3 separate regions of the Homo sapiens genome follow, and all the other regions are linked to region 3. Evidence: promoter capture Hi-C in human tissues and cell types (Jung and others, 2019). All regions are on one chromosome and are shown on one strand. Each heading gives the region's core, a stretch centred on a gene start or on the middle of the fragment in contact. The rest is flanking DNA. Distances are from core to core; before and after follow the strand shown.

Region 1 (2,848 bases), core at 314-2,813, 920 kb after region 3:
ACATGTGGAAGCTTCTGAAGGTTTACAGCCTGGAAAGTCAAAAAAGAGAAGAGGACATATCCAAAAGGTTGCCAAACTTTCTTAAAAGTAGCCGCAGGCCATGGGAGGATCTGATTCTGATGCTGAGAAAATCTCCGGAGATGTCTAAGGAATATAGAGCAAGCCCCCTGAGCCTTTCTGCTGCCCTTCGGTCTAAGGACAGACAGTCTAGGCATCGCTGTGTAACCTCCACATTCCACATTCGTGAAGTCCGCTGCTGCAAGAGCCAGGGCCTGCCTCTGTGCATGCATGAAACAGCAGCCCACATCTGCCCTTCCCTGCTGGCTTAAGGCTCAGAGCTGCTGGTTGGTCAGAAGGGTGGGGCCTCTGTTTCTGTGGCCATCTGGAGCCAAGCCAGCATCTTCCTTCTTTAGATCCTGGAATGGTCTGTTGATTGTGAGATTTCCTTCCACCGTGCATTGTGACATTTCCTTAGGCCCACTTAGCACAAAGAAAGTTCTTCTCACTGTCCAGAGACAATGGCTTTCCATACTTAACCCATAGATCTGGCAGCGCATGTCCCTCGCACTCCAGCGATGACGTTCTGCAATGTTTAGAATCAACTGCTGGCAATTAGCCTGCCATCAGAATGCAACCATCAGCTTTAGCAATGTCAGTCTTTCAGTCTACAAAGAGCTGCTCAAGTAATTTTCCTCAAACACAGATTTCATCTTGTCATTCTTGTGCTTGAGGCCACAGTGACGTTGCCCAATGTATTGAGTACAAATTCCCCAAACTCCTGTTCTACCACCTTCCCACTCTCCTCCAGCCTCATGCTTCTCACCCTCTGTGGTCAAGCCCTTTGTTCCAGCCAAGTGAACCGGAAGGTCATCCCTAATACAGCTTGCTCTTTTCTGTGTCTGTGCCCTTTAACATGCTACTTCACCCCTCATTTCTCCACCCCTGATCGCCAGCCCACATCCCTCCTCAGGTTCAGAATTCAGAATTCATCGACCAGAAGGCACTACATCAAGGCAGCTTCATTAGCTGTTCCTCTATGGAGACGCTTTCATTCATGTGATCACTGAATACTTGTGTGCTCATTCTTCCAGCCCCTGTGCTAGGCACTTGGTTACAACAATGAGTGAACTGGACCCGGTCCCTGCTCTTGCGAAGCCTACTGTCTGCAGTGTCACATCAGTTTGCAGGTTCTGCATGTTGCTTGTAAAAGTGACCTTGGCTTTTTTTTTTGTCTCTCAGTAGGTTATTAGTTCTTCAAATCAAGTCAAGGACTCCTGCCACACACCCTCCCCTACTTTTTTTCTTTTCTCTCTTTCCCTCTCTCTCTCTCATCTTTTAATAACACAGACCTGAGCAAAGTCAGCATTAGATATTGTTAGTGCAAAATGGATATGTTTTACCCTCTAGGGAAATAAATGAAGACTATCTCTGAACTATGAATGAGCAAAAGGGGACTGCTTCCCTCTGTTTGGATATGATGAGGAGTTATTAAGTTTCGCAGATTGTAATATATGAATTAAGTATACATTTAGGATTTATAAAATCCAAAAATAGGATTTTAAAAGTTATTATTGCTATGCATAGGCCACACACACACATGCACACACACACACCCAGAGCTAAGACAAAGGACAAGTTGATCACCTGATCGGACAGTGAGAAGTGCTGTCAAAATCAGGATGAGAACCCTGAACCAGTAGCCCTCATCTTCATTTGCAAGGTTATAATGTTTTTCCACCAAAAATTTTTCATAGTCTTTCAATCAATATTTAAGGTCCATGTTGCCTAAACCTTGGGGATTATGAAAATAGCCACTAAGTCCCATGTTTATGATGCCATCTTATTTAATGGGAGGATTGAAGAGATCTGCATGTATTTTTGGTTTGGCAAATCTTAGAATTATTTTTTCAACATTTGGGTTTGGATAAAACCAAAACTTATTTTGCCAAGCACTTTGGCCTTAATTTTCAAACCCATGTGTATTTTAAAAGAAATTTGATCTATGTGTTTCTGACTCATTTACACTTAACTCATGAGAATGCTGTTTGGTAAGAGCTATTAGATGTCCAAGCAAGTTTATGAGCCTTTTAAAGCCTTCTTTTCCCCATTCTTACCAGAAAGTTGTATTTTGCCAGCCATAAAAGAGTGTGAGCCCCAGGGGCCTGTGATCACTTTGAAATTTATAACCTCCAAAGCTTAAATGGATTCTGCGTTTGGAAAAAGGGTTTCCCCCTCCTCTTTTTCATATTAAGTGCACAAACAGGCTACCTATGATAAAGACAGGATCCTATGTCTTAGCTTCCAAGATGGCTGAAGGCAAATAGTAAAGAATTCAATCCAACCACCAATAAATTGTCCCTAAGACATTTCAGAGGAACAATATGACACTTTAAGTTCATGTGGACACAGACTGAGATCCAACACTCTAATGGGAAGTTTTTTGTTTGTTTTTTGTTTTGAGATGGAGTCTCACTGTGTCGCCCAGGCTGGAGTGCAGTGGCACGAATTCGGCTCACTGCAACCTCTGTCTCTCAGGTTCAAGCTGTTCTCATGCCTCAGCCTCCCAAGTAGCTGGGACTACAGCCATGCGCCATCATGTCCAGCTAATTTTTTATATTTTTAGTAGAGACAGGGTTTCCCCATGTTGGCCAGGCTGGTCTTGAACTCCTGACCTAAGTCTGATCCACCCGCCTTGGCCTCCCAATGTGCTGGGATTACAGGAGTGAGCCACCACGCTCACGTGTGGGACTCAATACGGTTCAGGTTAGAACACTTTAGCTTTTGAGTGCTGGGGAATTTCTTTGTTTTAAATCACAGACAACCAATCTTGTTTATGATTTTTTAATAC
Region 2 (2,933 bases), core at 161-2,660, 530 kb before region 3:
TTGATTCCACATCAGCATGTTTAAATATATTCACATTTTTGAGAAATATTCTGGGCCAGGCAGTCACTGTACTTAGGACTTGAAGATCAGTAAGACTTGTTTCCTGCTTTTGAAGAAGGTTTTCTATTCTCATCCAAGGCTTTATACTGGGTTTTTAAAGAAACTTTAAAAAGAAGAATTACACCTTTTGATACTCTTGATTCTCTAAACAAAGGAATGGGAGTATTAATACTGGCCCACTTTCCTAATATAGTCTACTGGTGAACTATAGTCTTGATGATACATGTAATTAAGGAGGAAAATATGAGAGCACATATGTATCAAAAGATTTTGAGGCCTATCCAGAATAGCCAAGTACTTTTCCAAGAATGGTCATTTGGTCATTTTCATAAGTTTGCCAGCAATCAATATTGTCTGAAAGTAAATTGGCTTAAGATAGAAAATTTAGAATAAGCAACAAAATACTTATCTTTGGTAAGTGGGGTGGTGGAGGCTTTCATTTAGTAAAGTGATTATTACCCCCCCACCTCCAGGAGAAATGAAACTTTCGTTGCTGGGTAGGATGCACATTTATAGCTGTTAGAGTTACAGTTGGAGTTGCAGTATCTAGTTGCTATCCAATTGAGTAATAAATAGATTGAAAATGTAACAATAAGTTTATTATTTCACATAATAAGTCTGGAGGTTGGCAGTTCCAAGCTTGATTGATTCATTGGCTCAACTACATTACTTGTCTGCTTTCTTTTTTTTGTTCTCCTTCCTCAGCATAGCAAATGATGTCTCCATTCCTACAGCATGCTATTCCAGGCACCATGTGCAGACATGACTATCTGCAGCTAAGAAGAAAAGAGTTTCTTCCCACGTCTCTCTCTCGGGGAAGAAAACCTTTCCCAGAAACCCTCTAGCAGACTTCCTCTCAGTTTCTATTGACTGGGATTGGGTCACATGCCCTTTTCTAAGCCAGTCATTGATGAAGAAATTGGGCATTTCTATTTTTGGTTTGGACTAATCAGCATTCAGCCCCTAAGGACCAGGAGACCCGCCCCCTGCCCCCCCATCACTTGAACAGAAAATTTCTCGATGAGGAGAAGCAGTACAGAAGGCAGTCAGGCCTAATTAGAGGCTTCCATTAAAACTGCATGTGTATCTAACTAGATAATATATCACTTGGTCTATTTATAATTTGGATCCGATTAGATTAGAAGCATACTTAATTCATTTTTAGTGGGGCTATAAAATATAACAGATTGGAGACATTCTAGAAGCAGATTTGGTCTTTTTAAATGATTGTTTTGTTTTGATTTTTTTTTAACTGCCATTTAGTGGAGCCAAAAGTCTAAGGTAGTGCATGTCAAACATTCACTGCTGACTCTTAGATATCACAGCAAATATGAGAGTCCTCTTTCAATATTTACACTAAGCTTCTCTCTTCCATACCACTATTTTCTGGCCTTTCTTATTTTATTGATACGTTGTGAACTCGGTCCCTTTCCCTCAGAAAGCCTTGTGGCTTACTTCTCATTGCCTCCTCTCATTCGTGTCTTTGACCACTTTCCTTCCTTGCTTTTGAGGCTCAGAGAATATTCTTTATTCTCAGGTTTTCTGTCCTTCTTTGGATAAAGAATGTGAAGAAACTGAAGGCAAATCTTTAACTTTTTTTTTCTAAATTGTTTGAAGACAGCCAATTTTTTTTCACTTTCTGACTTACAGGAGGAATCATATCTGTACTATCTATACTCAGTGTCTTCTTTATAATATATAAATACATCCTGTCCTATGTTTTGACTCTTCAGAAAGATCAAAATTAACAACAGTACTCTTTATGTGTTCAGATTTCGTCTATTTTATTTTATTTATTTTTGTTTATTTATTTATTTTGAGATGCTGTCTTGCTCTGTCGCCCAGGCTGTAGTGCAGTGGCACGATCTTGGCTCACTGCAACCTCTGCCTCCCGGGTCAAGCAATTCTCCTGCCTCAGCCTCCTGAGTAGCTGGGATTACAGGTGGGCGCCACCACGCCCAGCTAATTTTTCTATTTTTAGTGGAGACAGGGTTTCACCATGTTGGCCAGGCTGGTCTTGAACTCCTGACCTTGTGATCCACCCATCTCGGCCTCCCAAAGTGCTGGGATTACGGGCATGAGCCACAGTGCCCGGCCTGATTTCATCTATTTTATTCCTGTTGGAGTGCCCCCATTGGCCTCTAACATGAAAAAAACTGATTCATTTAAAAAATATTTTTCTAACATAGTTATTTTGTTTACAAATGGGATATAGTATTTTGTACAAAGATGTTAAACACTTGCATAGTAAATTTTACTTTAAGATCATGGGTTGTTCATGACATCATGAAGGATCCTCTAAAACAATGGCTTAATTAGAATTTTTTCTCATTTTCAACACTTTGTGTCCTTAAAGGTGCTGTATGTGCAGACCATTCATGAAGTAAAAGAATTAGAAAGTAGGTGTACTGTTGTCTTTGTTTAGAGTTATATTTATTTTTCTCTTGATAAGCCATGAGAAATTTGCAAAATATCTTTTTACCATTTGAATAGGTAATTAATAATTCAAACTGCTAACTTAAGGATTGTTGAAACTTTGGTCTGACAGAAAGTAGCTGTGGAATCTTGGGTATAATAAAGGATTCTTTTTGTTTTTTGAGATGGAGTCTCACTCTGTTGCCCAGGCTGGAGTGCAGTGGCATGATCTTGGCTGTCTGCAACCTCCACCTCCCGGGTTCAAGCAGTTCTCCCTGCCTCAGCCTCCCGAGTAGCTGGGATTACAGGTATGCGCCACCACACCCAGCTAGTTTTTAGTAGAGATGGGGTTTCACCATGTTGGCCAGACTGGTCTTGAACTCCTGACCTTAAGTGATCTGCCTGCCTTGGCTTCCCAAAGTGCTGGGATTGCAGGTGTGAGCCACCGTGCCCGGCCT
Region 3 (2,700 bases), core at 147-2,646:
TCAGCTAGTGACGACGCAACATGCTCCTGCGACAGACTGGAAACCACACATCCAACCCCTCCTCCAGACACTGCGTCCCAAACACCCCCACACCTCTCACTCCAGCCACAGCGCCCGCACCAGACCCCCACTACGGTAAACTCTACTCCAAAGTTGGCTGCGGACCTACCTCCTCGGTGCTGTCCGGAGAATCCAGCAAATGTACTCCTGTCCGTTCGCCCTTCCCTCGCCGGCGTCCCCTGCCCCCTCTCCTCACCTGGCCATGCCCCAAGCTTCTGGGGAGCCTCATTCACCCCTCCGAGACCGTCCCCAGGTGCCCCGACTCCGGGGATCAAAGATAACCCCCAAAGCCTCGCAGCGGAGGCTCCCCCTGCCAACCCCTTGCCCTGGAGCCCGCAAGCGCACTCCGACGAATCCGAGACGCGTCTCGCGCTGCGCAGGAGGCCCGGCGGGTCCTGCTGCCAGCCCGGGGTGGGTACGCACCTTCCAGCCGGCAGAGCTGTTGCTGTCGCCCTTATCCTTGAAGTAGGGCACGCAACGCACCATCCACTCGTAGATCTGGGACAGAGTGAGCCGTTTGTCCGGGGAGCTCTCGATGGCGCGGGTGATCAGGTCCGCGTAGGACAGGTTTCCCCAGGCGTTCCGCCGCGACGAACATTTCCTCGGCTGCCCGGAGCCCCCAGCCGCCCCCGGCTGCGGCGGTGGCAGCGGTTGCTGAGGCTGCAGCAGCGCCTGTGTACCCCCGCTCAGCCCGCCCGCCGCGGTGGCTGGCCCAGACCCGGGGTCTTGCCCTCCGGGTGCCAGCACCCGGGCCGAGTCCTCAAGGAGCAGCCCGGAGCCCAGCGTGCCGCTCCCGCCGCCGCCGCCGATCGCCATGGCCGAGCCGGCCCGTCCCCCGCCGTCCTCGTCGTCTTCATCGTCCTCCTCCTCGGGGATCATGGAGTCGGCGGCCGTCTCCCCCGAGGGCTTGGCAGGGCTCGCTTGGAGCTCCGGCCTTTGCAGGGGCCACGTACAGGATCGCGGACGGCTCTGGGGCTCGAACTCCGGGTCCAGCTCCACTTCGAGCGGAGAGAGCGGGGCCGGGGAAGCCGGTGCCTCTGCCATCTTCGCCGCCCGCCCGCCCGCGGCTGGGGCTCTCGCGCTCTCCTCTCGCGCCGGGGCGGGGTGCAGCGGGGGAGGGACGTGGACGCCGCGAAGGCTCCGGCTCCCGGGCGCCGCCGCCGCCGCCTGGGGAAGCACCAAAGAAGAGAGAAGGAGAGTTGGTTATCCCGGGCCGGAGCCCCGTCCTCGGCGAGTCCTCGCCCGCTGCCGCCACCTCCCAGTCCTGCCGCGCCCGCCTCCCAGGAACAGGAGGACCTGAAGACGTGCGGCCAGCGAACCTGGCGCAGCAGACACCGCCCCCCGGCCAGGCCGCGATGGAGCCGCGAGCGAATCGACGGCCTCGCGCGGGGCAGCCCCCTCCCCCCGCCGCCCAGCCGCAGGTCCCTCCCGGGCTAGGCGGCGGGGCGGGGAGAAGGGGGAGGGGCGCCCGGGGGAGGGGCGGCCGCGCCTTTAAAGCGGGCAGCGGCCGGAGCTGGCGCAGCCGAGCCGCGGTCAGAGCCCGAGCTCGGGTGTGCGTGCGTTTGTTTATGTTTCGCTCGGGCCCGCTCTAGTGCCTCCCGCGGCGCCGCCGCTCAAGTCTGTGCTGTCTTCGGCTCTTCTCCCCTTTCCTAGCCTGGCCGCCTCCGCGACCCCCCGTCACCCCCCACCCGGTCGAATGGCCCGAGCCCGGGGACTGCGCGGGCAGCTCCCTCTCCCCTCTTCGCCCGCGGGCCAGAGGGCGAACGGGGGTCTGGGCGCAGATGGGCCCTTGTCACTTCCAAAAAATAAAGGAAAGACAGAAAGAAGGGGGAGCAGCAGCCCAGCGGGTGTTCGCAGAGGTTCGAGCCCGGCGGGGACGGCCACTTCGGGGTTTTGTGTGGTTTGCATTCTCGCGGACGTCGTCCCCTCCGCCCCCTTCCCAGTCGGGATCCGGGGGAGGGAGCGAGTCGGAACATAAATCTTCCAACAGGTCGGGAAGCGCCAAGTCTCCCGGGCTGCTAGAAAACCCGGACCAGCACGTTCATCACCTCCTTGCTCCCGCTGCTGCCATCTTGACAGTTTCCCCCTTCCCGAGTCCTTTAAAAACACTAGCGGGCGAGAAGGGGGGCGCGCACACCGCGGCTCAGGGAGGGGAAAGGGAAGCGCCCGGCCCAGCTCGGAAGCAGATCCGGAGTCACCGGGAAGGCGGCCGCCCGCTGCACGGCTCCGGCGCCTACCTCGCTTCCTTCCCTTCAGGGACGCGGCGGGACGACGCACGATCCCGCGCGGGCCCGGGGCACGGCGAGGAGGGGGCGCGCAACCTCGGCGAAGGAGAAGCGCTCGGGCCGTCGCCGCAGCCCGCCCGAGGAACCGCCTGTCAGCTCGCGCGCCGCCACCTTCCACATTCCTCCTCCTCCCTTCCACGAGCAGGGCGGCCGCGGCAGCAGCACAAAGTTATAGACACACGCAGGGCGCCTCAACCTAGGCTGACGGCGGGCGGGTCCCCGCCCAGGGGGAGGGCTGGGCGGCGGGCTGGGCGGCGGGCCGGGCGCGCGGCGGGCGTGCGTGTGTGAGTGCGCGTGTGTGAGCTCGCGCGCGCCTGCGCGGCCCGGCTCCGCGGGGCTGCGGGCGTGGGTGTCC

Evidence for each region. The method cuts DNA at HindIII sites, captures the fragments that hold promoters and counts their contacts. A contact is called where the count stands out against the background at its distance.
Region 1: a fragment that was not itself captured here is called in contact with the fragment with the promoter of FOXO3 in region 3 in 1 of the 25 tissues and cell types used here (dorsolateral prefrontal cortex).
Region 2: a contact is called between a fragment that was not itself captured here and the fragment with the promoter of FOXO3 in region 3, in 2 of the 25 tissues and cell types used here (aorta and dorsolateral prefrontal cortex).

The regions. Positions count from the first base shown.
Region 1 is chr6:107,643,914-107,646,761 of GRCh38, reverse strand. All of the region lies in intron 6 of SOBP (sine oculis binding protein homolog), which reads right to left. Among named protein-coding and RNA genes, the nearest start is that of SOBP, 160 kb to the right of the region's middle. The HindIII fragment of the contact is 4,361 bases long and covers 1-2,848 here.
Region 2 is chr6:109,086,076-109,089,008 of GRCh38, reverse strand. The region is part of intron 1 of SESN1 (sestrin 1); the gene reads left to right. Among named protein-coding and RNA genes, the nearest start is that of SESN1, 7.3 kb to the left of the region's middle. The HindIII fragment of the contact is 4,774 bases long and covers 1-2,933 here.
Region 3 is chr6:108,559,613-108,562,312 of GRCh38, reverse strand. FOXO3 (forkhead box O3) reads right to left here and starts at 1,396. Exons shown (of 3, transcript NM_001455.4): 1 at 484-1,396. The coding sequence starts at 1,104. RefSeq lists an enhancer at 419-919 and silencers at 1,363-1,582, 2,562-2,631, 2,672-2,700. The HindIII fragment of the contact is 10,207 bases long and covers 1-2,700 here.